Linked DNA regions of Homo sapiens: regions 1 and 3 are each linked to region 2. Evidence: promoter capture Hi-C in 16 types of primary human blood cells and fetal thymus (Javierre and others, 2016). All regions are on one chromosome and are shown on one strand. Each heading gives the region's core, a stretch centred on a gene start or on the middle of the fragment in contact. The rest is flanking DNA. Distances are from core to core; before and after follow the strand shown. Region 1 holds the start of NECTIN1-AS1 (NECTIN1 antisense RNA 1). Region 2 has its middle 32 kb from the start of TRIM29. Region 3 holds the start of NECTIN1 (nectin cell adhesion molecule 1).

Region 1 (3,679 bases), core at 707-3,206, 400 kb before region 2:
AAGACTAAGACATTTTCTTTTACCTTAAAAGCTCTGTCTAGCAGGGGCCCCAGACATGAAAACAAATAATGACTGAGTGATAAACGCAGTTTTTGTTTGTTTCTGAAAAATACAAACCCAAAGCAATGGGAGCTCAGAAGGGGGAGTGATTCTGTCTGAAGGTGACGGAGGCGCCACAGAAGATGTGAGATTTTTTAGCTGGGTCCTGCAGGATAAGCAGGAGTCCTTGAGACAGACAGAGATAGAGACAGAGACAGAGACAGACAGAGAGAGGGAAGGGAACAGGAGGGGAAGAGGAAAAGAGGAAAGAGTGTCTTTAAAAGCTTGGATGTGGCGAAAGCACTGGATATGTGGGGCAGAGGAGAGGGGAATACAGGGTGAATGGAAAGCAAGGTAGGAGCCAGTTGTAAAAGGGCTTTGTATTAGATGAGGGTCTGAACTTCACCTTGTAGGCAACTGGGAGCCACTGACGCCTTTTAAGCAAAGTGGTGACATGGTCACATCTGTGCTTTGGAAAGAGGCACATGGAATGCTAAGTAGAAGATGTCAGTCACAAAAGGCCACATACTGTATGATTCCATTTATACGAAATGTCCAGGATAGGCAGATCCATAGACACAGAAAGTAGATGAGTGGTTGTCAGGGGCCGGGGGAGGGAAAATGGGGAGTGACTGCTAATGAATACCGAGGTTCTTTCCGAGGTGATGAAAATGCTGTGGATTAGGCAGTGGTGACGGCCTATTGTGAATATACTAAAGCCACTGACTCGTATACTTCAGGAGGGCGAATTTTGTGGTTTGCGAATTATATCTCAACAAAGACAAAAGAAGAAAAGAGGCACATGAAGAAGGATGGATGATGGCAGGGCTAGGCTGGAGACAAGCAGGCTACCAGAAGACCTCTGCAAGCCTGCAGCACCCCCAAGCGTGGGGGCCCTGGGGTCCCACGGCTCAGCGCAGCTGCTAAGAGCACCGGTCTTCTGAAGTCCAAGACTCAGCTTCCCTCCTCAGGACTGCCCAGGACTGATTCTGCCCAGGACTGATTTTGCTGGGGGAGGGGGCACCGGAGAGATCCTGAGACACTCTACCCCCCACGCCCGCCCACATAGCCAACATATCGCACATATCCTGCATGAGATGCCTGGGACCAGAGCGACAGACGGTCACCTGACAAGCCACACCACCTATTTTTGAAGACAGGCGGGTCCCTTGGTAATAGAACAGGCACGAAGAGGCTTTGCCATAGATGGGGAAATTAGGGCAGAAAATAACACCGTGAAAACAGAACTGTCTGTTCAGAAATAAGAGACCCCCTCACTCATATCCCCAGTGTACCAGGGCCTGTCTCAGCCCCTGAGAATCTGGGATCACCAGCTCCACATCCGGGCCCAGGGCGCCTCTGTCTGCCACGCACTTGCCTGGGCCACTCTGCTACCTGGGGCCGGGGGAGAGCCTGCAGGGGCAGGGGCGCAGAGGAAGCCGAGACTACCCTCTAAAGAGTCCTTTCTGTGGGGCCCTGAGCGTCTGTAACCAGGCTGTGAGGAAGCACTCACTTCCAGGGGTGGAGGTTCAGGGGTTGGGGAAGGGAAGGGCTAGCTCCCTAGTCTGTAAGGGCAGAAGGTGCTCTTGAATGGAAGCAGGGAGGGAGGGGAGCCCCGTGTGGGAAGCCTGAAAGGAGCCTGGGAAAGACTGGGGCTGGGGGCTGGGGGCTGGGAGAGGAGAGTGATGCTCGGGGACTCCCCAACTCTCAGGCAGGGAACAGCTTTATTTTAACTCCGGGTTTGTGGAGAGAGGGCAGGACGAGGCGGAGCGGGTTTGAGGGGGAGGACCTAGCTGGTTTTTCCCAGCATCCCCCAGGCCACTTCTCTCACCACAAACCTCAGTCTCAAGCCACTTGGTTGTCATGGAAACAGGCCGGAATAGAACAGATGGTCTCCACTAGCCAAATTCCAATTAAACAGGGCAGAGATGGATAGGGAAGGGAGTGTGATGTGACGAGGCCGCAGAGAGCTCAGCCCCCAGGATGGACGGGAAACCCTGGGTCACCGTTCTTGGAGGGGGACATCAGGTGGGTAGAGAAAGCTGCCTGGGGGAAGTCACCACCCAGTCACCCCTTCAGTCCTCAAAGGTGGGGGCGTGGTGCTGAGGGAATGTCAGCTTGGGGAGGGGCAGCCACAGCTTTCCATTTACAGAAGCGCTGAAACAGAGCCACATGCACGCACACACGCGCACCCAAGCACACATGTGCAGCTGAACGCTGCGGTATGCACACAGGTCGACATGCTCAGGAACACGCGGGAGCAGTGCGGGAAGGTCAGGCAGAGTCATTGCACAGACACATTCCTCTAACACCGTACAAAGAAAATGCTTTGGAAAACCAAGCAAGCAATTTATTCTCATTTATTTAATAAACAAGTATTAAGAACCTACCAAGTGCCTGCCAGTAGGGCTATAAACACACACACACACACAGCCCTGCATGCGTGTGTATGCATGTGAAGGATATCAAGGACACAGGATAAATTCACTGACATGATCACTGCTACGGTAGGACTGTTCACAAAGTGCCATGATGATACAGGAAGAAATGATGAATGTGGGGAGGAGAATTAGAGAAACAAGAGGTGTCCCACAGGAGGTAAAATTTCACTGGGCTTTGAAGGATGAGTAGGAGTTTGCCAGCTGGTGAAGTAGGGTCCTCCAGGCAGAGGAGACAGGAACAGCAAAGGCATGGTGGACTGAAAGGTCAGAGCTTATGGGATAAGCCCAGTGTGAGAGGAGTTTGAAGTGTAGAGGAGTTCATGGGAGAGAAGACCCCATACAAGTCCTGGTGTGGAGAGTATAATTTCTGACTCAAACACTAACACCCCACACAAAGAACCGTGCCATCACACAGCGCCCGCCTGTCAAACCACACATCCACGCACAACTTCACACACACATAACCGCAGACCTTCCTGGTGCTGATAAATATTGAGCAAATGGAAAAAAGATGATTTTGTTTACTGCAAACAAAATGAGATGGGAGGGGAGGTGTCAAGTAAAAGGAAAGCATCAGAAGTTTTCCTTTCTTGGCATGGGGGTTAAATAGGGTTGCCAAAAAAAAAAAAAAACCAAAAACAGAAAGAAAGGGGCACGGGAGGCTGGCTGGGCACGGTGGCTCATGCCTGTAATCCCAGCACTTTGGGAGGCCAAGGCAGGTGGATTACCTGAGGTCAGGAGTTCGAGACCAGCCTGACTAACATGGTGAAACCCTATCTCTATTAAAAATACAAAAATTAGCCAGGCGTGGTGGTGGGTGCCTGTAATCCCAGCTACTTGGGAGGCTGAGGCAGGAGAATCATTTGAACCCAGGAGGCAGAGATTGCAGTGAGCTGAGATCGTGCCACCGCACTCCAGCCTGGGCAACAGAGTGAGACTCTGTTTCAAAAAAAAAAAAAAGGCATGGAGAAGGAAACCTCACAGCTTATCAGGGTTGTGAAGCCAGCCAGCTCCCATCGGTTTACTGTACATTTATGGGACACCTACTGTGTGCAAGGTGCTGAGCTAGGGCCTGCAGAGATTTTAAGGCTGGGTCCTATCCTTCAAAGAGCTCAGGTGCTGGGTGAGGGGAGGAGAGAAAGTAAATACTAAACAACACAGAAGGGGAAGGGGGGCTGGTGTCTGGGAGCCTCGCATTT
Region 2 (3,898 bases), core at 1,183-3,682:
AAGACTAACACCCAAAGGCACCACAGGTTTTGGCAGTCAGAATAGAAACCCACACTTCAATCTCATCCAAACCTTCCCTCCCTTCTCCACCCAGTCAACTCTTATGCTACCTTCGAAACAGCTCAAGAATCTCTTCCTCCAGGAAGCCCTTTCTAACTACCCACTTGGATTCCTCTGTGAGCCCAGAGGACTCCAGGCTTCCTCTGGCATTGAACTCACCAATGATGATTATAATCACGGACATACCTCTCTTCCTCTCCCCTCACTCTTTTGAAAGGTGTGAGCATGGCCTGCTCTCTCACACCCTTGCTCCCAGGCACAGAGGGGCACCCACTAAACATGTGCTGCACAGATGGGGTTTCCATCGTGTTTGTATTTATTTTCCAACAGTTGATGCATTTTGAACATGTGATACATTCACAGCCTTCAAGACTCAAGAGGTACAAAGGGGTCCACGGGGAAAGTCTCCCTCCCGCCCTACCTTGCAGCTCTCCAGCTCCTCCCTAGGAGTAGCCAGTTCCTTGTACACCCATCCAGGAGGCTTTATCCTCATGCAAGCAAATGTGGATGTGCGTTTCTTCCTTTCTCAAGAAAATAGCGGCTACGTCACACATTATTCCCACGTCACTATCTTCACTCCACAACCTGTCTTAAAGACTTCTTTTTCACTACATGGAGGAGGACTTTGTGTTCCCAGGCGTCCTGGAGCCAGACCCTGCTACTTCAGGAGCGGGAGGCTGTGGGGCAGGGGGCTGGAAGGATGGGCTCCCAAGTCCTGCTTTTCCATCAGGGTGTGCAGTGTTGACTGGCATCTTAAGATGCCTCTGTGGCATACCTGGACCAGCAGGCTAGGAGCGGCCAAAATAAGCAGCCTCGGAAGTGTGGACACAGGGCCTGGGAGCCTTGGCCCGAGCCCACAGGACAACTGTAAGCCCCATCAGACTTCCTGGGGGGCAGGATAACGTTTCTGGCAGGCTCAGCTCGAAGGCTCGGGCTCAGTGGAGGAAGCTAGAGAAGCTTATTAGTTTAAGCAGGATAAAATGTGTAAATTAATTACCCCGGCCACCCATGCATGTAGCGGCTGGTCTGCCACTGGGAGGAGAAGAATTAGCCTCCACTCCTCCTGCAGTCTGGCTTTCCTGCCAGATGCAGCCCAGAGGACCCATGACTGCATGGCCACCAGGGAAGGAGGGACCCAGACACCAGAGCCAGGTGGCCTCGAGGAGCTAAGCAGGCCCTCCCTGAAATGCCAGGGATTAGATTCTGCCATCACCACCAGCAACAAAAGCAGCAGTCAGGGAAGAAGTGCCTGAGGCAGGGAAAGGACCCTGTGTCCTGCTCTCCACCATGCATCAGGCACCTATTTATCAAGTGATGATGCACCAGGCACTGTGAAACACTTACTTGCCTCCTTTCATTTGATCCTCTTACAAACCCATACGGTCACTATGATTAGCCCTATTTGGCAGATGAGAAAACTGAGGGTAAGGAAGCGTAAGTAGCTTCTTCTATTGACCCAGCCAAGTCAGGTCAGGTACAGAGTGGCACATTGCCTCTCTCAGAGAGGCACAGACAGAGGATGATCTCTGGGACTGTATCATCCCCCAAGAGTGTTCCCTGCTTCCACACCCACCTCATGGCAGTTCCGCCCCCCTCAGCCCATGGCAGCTGTGCTGCAGTCTCCCTCTCTGGCATTAGTGCTCCTGCAACAGGGACCTACTCTCCAACTCCCCTCCTCCACTCACTGGCCCTTAGCTCTCAACTGTTTCCTAAACCCTGCATCCTCTGCACATCCTGCTTGTGTCTTTGCTTGCTCCTGCACCTGCAATGCCACCAGCGTCTCCACCTGCCACAGTCGGTCCCATCAATGATGTCTCAAGCCACCAGTATAGCGCACCTGGGCCTCCACTCTTGCTTCACCTCGGTTCATTCCTGAGTCCTCTTCTTAGAGCACTGATCTGATTACTCACCCTCCCATGGAGGTGGTCACTGTGTTTACGGTAAAGCTCAGCCCCTATGTAGCCCGGCATGATCCTGCCCTGCCTTTCTCACACATGCAGAACTCACTCAGGTCCCCCCAGATCTTCTCAACTCACTCTCAGCACAGCTGTCCCCTCCTCAGGGGACATGCCTCCTCATCACCGTTTTGGGCCCTGCACGCTCTGATCACCTTCTGGATCAGCTCACAGGCCCAGTCTTGTGAATTCATGCAGAGAGGCAGCTTGTGTCTCCTATATCTTGTGCTTAGATCTTGGTCCAACACAAAAATCTGAATGAATGCAGGCCTCCCCCGAGCCACGCCTCCATTCCTGCTCCTCATCAGGTATCTGTGCACCTCTCTCCCCCCTAGGCCTGTACAATGCCCCCAGTCTTGGGCTCAGGTCACCTAGTGCAGTCCCCACTCCAGGCAGGTCCACACCTGAACCATCAAAGACCCACACCTCACCCTCAAAGAATATGCCGCCTCCTTCTCAGACAAGCTCTCAGGGCTCCACCTTCCACAGCCAGATCTGAATCCTGCAAGTTACCAATCCGTAACAGGGTTTGCAGCCCCTCAATTCAGCCAGTTCAGGATCTTAACATGATAATGGGACCAACCTCAGAAAAATGCAGAATTTGCTAACCAGAGCCAACCTCAAGGCCAACGAGGAAACACGTTATATGTCCACTTGGGATGAATGTATTGATAACGATAAGCCCGGCCAAAGACCTCTCCTCCCTCCCTCACCTGGCTCCCTGTCCTTCCTGGGGAGCTTCAGGGATCCCAGGCACCATCCTCATCCGCTGGGTTGAGGTCACCCATCCACTGCCACATCTTGCAAGAGAGTCTGTTGGTTCCCAAGTTTCCTCACCCCCTCCCCACTCCTTTGCCTCTTCTTAGCCTCTGCCTTGGCAAGGTGATGAATTAGGAGCCAGGAGTTGGCACATTCACCAAGCAATTAGTGTTTATCTTCCTTGTTTCTGTGGCTGAACAACAGATCATTTTCAACCTTAATAGTCAATACTCAGAAAGATAAAACTGTCTGGGTCACTCTTGGGAGGTGATTTGAGGGTTTGGTGGGAAAGGGAGGTGGGATATGAGATGGCCCTGCCTCAGCCATCCAGCCCCCGCCCCTCTGGACAGGCATTCCTGGGGTCCCACCTGTTACCCTTCTGACCTCTCTCCATGGTCCATCAGGAGGCAGGGACAAAGGTCCCCATGTCGTAGCCGGGACACGGAAGGGGGACAAGAGTCAAGCAGCTTGGCAGTTCGCAGCCCCTCAGTGTCCCCTCCCCCTTGGACTTTGAGGACTCTGGCTTTCTGTCTCACTCTTCACCAAGAGCTGCCTTGGGTAGAGCCCTGTCCGACTCATGCAAGCCCTCTTTGGGGGCTGCAAAACTGAGCCTTCTGTGCCCACCCAGCCCCCTCCTCAGGCCAGCTACCTGCAGAGGGAACCCAAAGGTGGCACCCACATAAGGGAAGCCTGCCCCTTCTGCAGAATTCCATGCCAGGTTAGGCAAGGTCTGGTGGGGTGAGCAGTAAGCCCCTATCTGCTGCTCAGACCAGGGGACTGCTGTCCTGGGGTCATATATTCTACAGGCTAGGACAGAAGGGCCTACTCAGCTAATACAGAAGTGGGGGAAGGAGGAGAGAGAGAGAGGCTCACCTTGTAGAAGGGCCCTGGGACCCAGTCCTGACGGCCCGGGCTGGGGCAGGAGTTTGGCGCCCACTCACTGCAGTGAAATGCTGTCACCTGCTGGCCGTGCCTCAGAACTGCAGGAGCCCTGGTGCGGGTCCTAGGGCTGGGCCCAGCAGCTTCCACCCTGTGACTCTCCACCAAGTGCAGAAGGCCAAAAAGAGGGGAAATCAAGCTTCATCCCAGGTTGAAATGTCGTCATTGTCTTTGTTGTTAATTCC
Region 3 (3,884 bases), core at 828-3,327, 380 kb before region 2:
GGGGCCCTCGTAGTGAGCTGGCTGGCAGCAGAAGAGGCATAGAAGGGAATGAGGCCAGGCTTCTGCCTTCCAGGAGTGCACCCTAGCCCCGGAACTAGGCAGCCAGACTGTTCCCTCGATAACAAACTGCCTGGCCATTCTGCGGCAAAGCACATTGCAGGAACTCGGGATCTAATATTCCTGCCCCACGAGGAGATGGTCTCTGTACACTGACCCCCTATTCTGCCACCCCAAGGCGGGGACCACGTGCTCCAGTCAAGATCCGCCCCCCTCCCCAAAATCCCATCTTGCTAGAGCTGCAGGTCGTCTCTGGTTTCTACCCAGAGAGCTGGAGGAACTCCCCACACCCCTTGACCCACGCTTGGTGTCCAGTCAGCCGGCGAGCTCGGCAGCTTCCCCAGGGACACAAAGGGTTAAATCCAGGCGAGGGGACTCGGTCGGATTTGCCTCCTAAACGCATTTTCCAGTTCATTCCCCAGCACAATATGCCTGGGCTGGTCCCAGCCTCCGTCCCCACCCCACCCGTCAGAATGGGCCACCAGGGCCACCCCGGGGTCGGGCGCGAGGTTAACCCCTCGGCTGCCGGCAGCCCGCACCTCGAGGAAGGACACGCGGGGCACCCTCGGGAAAGTGGGTCATGCAGCTACTTGGATGGCAGGAAGCCCGCGGTGTCTCCTCCAGGGAGAGCCCCCAGAGCTGGGAGCAGAGTTCCGAGGGGGAGCCCGGTCCCGCGCCAGGCCGGGAGGAGGCTGCCCCGGCCTCACCCTCCAGGAAAGGAACCGCAGGTGAGCGAGGAGCCGCCTCTGCCGCAGCAGCCGACTCTCCGCGCCCGCTGTGGGGCGGTGTGGGGCGGGAGGGGGCCCGAGCGTCCTGAGCCGTCTGGCAAAGGGGCCGCCGAAAGAGACGAAGCCCCCCCGCCATACTCCAAACCCGCAGCTCCGAGACTGACGCCCTCCCCCTGGGGCTGTTGTCTCCCACCCCAAGACGGTGATTACGGTGATTATTTTGCATTTATGTAACACGCAGTGTTTCCAAACTGCTTCCCGAGCAGAGAGCTGGTTATTAAATAAACAGAACGCTATTACATATTATTATTTTTTGTAAAGAACTGAGCGGAGAAAGTGCTTTCATGCTACATAGAGACGTGCATCTGACTGCTTCCCTGCAGGGCAGGCGGTTCGGCTTCTCAACCTCTTTCTCCGCCGTGCCACCTCCCACCCCCTTTACCCAAGCCGTGACCCAACTTTTCTGGCTCCTTTCACTCCCCACAATCCAGTCGTGCCCGCCATCCGGCTCCCAGCCCCGGGGAGGCATTGGATGGGGGTGGGGACAGCAGAGGTGAGCGCTCTTACCTGGGAGGAAGAATGCGGTCAAGCCGAGAGCGAGTCCCCACCAGCGTCCAGCGGCGCCCGCAAGCCCCATCCGAGCCATCGGGGGCCGGGGGTCCGGCGAGAGGGGCGGCGAGGGCAGCGCTCCTCGCGCAGCAGAAACCAGCCCGGAAGATGAGGGAAGATCGCTGGCGGTCGGCGGGCGCTCGAAGGATCCAGGTCAGCTGCAGCCGTCGGCCGGGGCGGGGTGGGCTGGGTGGGATCCGCGCGGCCGCAGTCCGGGCCCCGGGCCGCCGCCGGCTCAGAGGCTCGGCAGATGCCCGCCGCAAGTTGCACGAGTCATGCCCCTTCGCCTCCTCCGCTCTCCTCCCGGCGCCGGTCCCCGCCCTCTTCTTCCACGCAGAGCGGGGCTGGGGAGAGGGACCCACCCCCGGCGCGCCCGGCTGCCCGGTTGCGCGGCGCGGGCTCCTGGCCCCGGCCCGCTCACACCCTCCCGCTCGGCTCCAACTTGCAGGCGTCCATGGCCGGCCGTCCTCCGAGGGTGGCGGGACGCACCCGGGCGGCGCAGAAGGCTCGGGGCCCAGGCGGCGGGCGCGGGGCTCGGCGGTCGGCGGCCCGGGTGGCTCTGGCTGCGCGGCCGGGCGCGAGGAGAACGGGTCGGAGGCGCCGCGCGTCCCAGCCGCCGCCGCTCTGCCGGGTGCCGGCGATCCGCAACAATGTGGAGCCGCGCTCGCTGCTCTCGCTCTCTTTCTCTCACTCGCCGAGCTCCAGCCTCTCACCCGCTCGCCCGTGATGTCAGCCAGAGGGGAGGGGTTAGCGTTAACCCCCTCCTGGCCTCGATGCGCGCCCGCCGGGGCCCGGTCGGAGCCCGAGCGCACGCGCCTTCCCGACCGAAGCAGAGGCGGATCGCGAGCGCGGGCTGCGGGGTCCGGCTCAGGACCCTCGCTCGGGAGCTACCCCTCGGCCGCCTTCCAGCTGGGGAGCCGGCTGGAGCGCGGGCTGCCCTCCTCCTCCGCTGACAAAGGCAGGCAGTGACCCCTAGCGGCCGGCGGCGCCGAGGCGCGGCGGGTGGGGGTGGAGTTAGGACCGGGCCGGGGGCGGCGGTGGAGGAGAGGGCGGGATGGAGAATCCCGGCTAGCAGCGTGGGAGCTGGCAGGGCTTCTGCAAGCCCTCTGCTCCCACCCTGGCCCCATTTCACAGACGAGGAAACAAAGGCCCAAAGAAGAGTTCCGCCCGGGACGGAACGTGGCATAGCTCGCAACAGAACCCAGTCTCCGGAGATCCCTCTCCTCTGCACCACTTGGACGTTCCACGGAGAGGCAGCGGTGCGCGGGGCGACGGGGAGCTGCCAGAGAAGTCAGTGGTGGGCATGAGTGGGTGAGACGGGCCCACTGAGGTTTCTGGTAGAGTTTCTTTTCTAATCCCTGCTCCCTTCGGGGGTTCCTTTTCCAAAAATTGAAGCACCCCGCGCCCCGCCCTTGCCCAAACATAGCCTGAAAACGAGCTCTCCTCCAGTTTCCAGGACCTTAGTTTTGAGAGATTTGTGGGATTCCCGCGAAAGTGGATCGTCCAGTCAGTGTCCCTGGCAGGGCAGGGACTCTCCGCCCCATCCCGTTCACCACCCACTACATCCGGGTGTGGTAGGATTTCTGCCAAGGCGACTGCGCCCTCCGGGCCTTCCCTCTTCCCCTTACTCTGGTCCTCCTATCCCCATCCCCTCCCCCTGGGGGAGGAAGACAGACAGAGTTTCCCACTAAGGAGAGCCGAATTCTCCCCAGACCCTGGCCGGACACTGCTCCCTCTACCCTTTGCCCAGCCCTCTAGGCGGGCAGGAGCAGAGGGGAAGTGGCTGTTTCTGATAACACGTAAATTCTGGTTCCTCACTGGAGAAGGGGCAAAGACAGCGCCATATTCCCACTGTCTGGAATCCGGCCCTGGAGTGTCTCGGTTTCTCGCGGAAGTAGTCAGATCTGGCATTGTCATGAACACTCACCCACTCACTGTATGGTCTTTTACATTTAACAAATGTAACCTGGGCTTTCTTTGTGTCAAAACACAGTGCCTGGCTTGGGGATACAGAGACATCATCATTGTCCTGAAGGAACTCAATCTAGTTGAAGGGTGGGGGAAGACAGACATAGAAACGGATGTCGTAAACAAATATTTAATATGGGATTGTGTGGGTTTGGTGGGTCACAGAAAAAGTGCCCAGTTTAGCCCGGGGTGGGGTTGGTGTAAAGGCTTCAGGGAAGCGAACACAGGGTCTCGGTGAGTCATCTATCAGACCAAGGTAAGTGCTGGAGGGCAGAGACATAAAAGAGACTGGATTTAAGGTAGAGGGTCAGCACGAGCAAAGGAATGAAGGTAAGCAATAGTCAGGTGAGTAGGGGGCCCACAAAGGGTTGACTGGTTTAGCCTGAGCCTAAGACTTGAGGAAAGGAGAGGTCTGCAGATTCGTGAATCATGCCCGGTAGCTGCTAGGAGGGTTTTAAACTGGGGAACACGCTATCAGATTTAGTTTGTGGCAGCTGGGAATCTCCCATCTGGCTGCTGAGT

Evidence for each region. The method cuts DNA at HindIII sites, captures the fragments that hold promoters and counts their contacts. A CHiCAGO score of 5 or more calls a contact.
Region 1: the fragment with the promoter of NECTIN1-AS1 here is called in contact with a fragment that was not itself captured in region 2 in 6 of 17 cell types (megakaryocytes, M0 macrophages, M1 macrophages and 3 more); the score reaches 10.5 in megakaryocytes.
Region 3: the fragment with the promoter of NECTIN1 here is called in contact with a fragment that was not itself captured in region 2 in 2 of 17 cell types (endothelial precursors and M0 macrophages); the score reaches 7.7 in endothelial precursors.

What each region holds. Positions count from the first base shown.
Region 1 is chr11:119,707,964-119,711,642 of GRCh38, forward strand. NECTIN1-AS1 (NECTIN1 antisense RNA 1) reads left to right here and starts at 1,957. Exons shown (of 3, transcript NR_183634.1): 1 at 1,957-2,067. The region is part of intron 1 of NECTIN1 (nectin cell adhesion molecule 1); the gene reads right to left. The HindIII fragment of the contact is 5,414 bases long and covers 322-3,679 here.
Region 2 is chr11:120,104,648-120,108,545 of GRCh38, forward strand. No RefSeq gene overlaps it. Among named protein-coding and RNA genes, the nearest start is that of TRIM29, 32 kb to the right of the region's middle. RefSeq lists an enhancer at 3,800-3,849. The HindIII fragment of the contact is 2,835 bases long and covers 1,016-3,850 here.
Region 3 is chr11:119,727,123-119,731,006 of GRCh38, forward strand. NECTIN1 (nectin cell adhesion molecule 1) reads right to left here and starts at 2,078. Exons shown (of 6, transcript NM_002855.5): 1 at 1,353-2,078. The coding sequence starts at 1,431. NECTIN1-DT (NECTIN1 divergent transcript) reads left to right here and starts at 2,461. Exons shown (of 4, transcript NR_120587.1): 1 at 2,461-2,684. RefSeq lists enhancers at 1-602, 1,402-2,263, 2,264-3,124 and silencers at 1,674-1,993, 2,054-2,463. The HindIII fragment of the contact is 12,809 bases long and covers 1-3,884 here.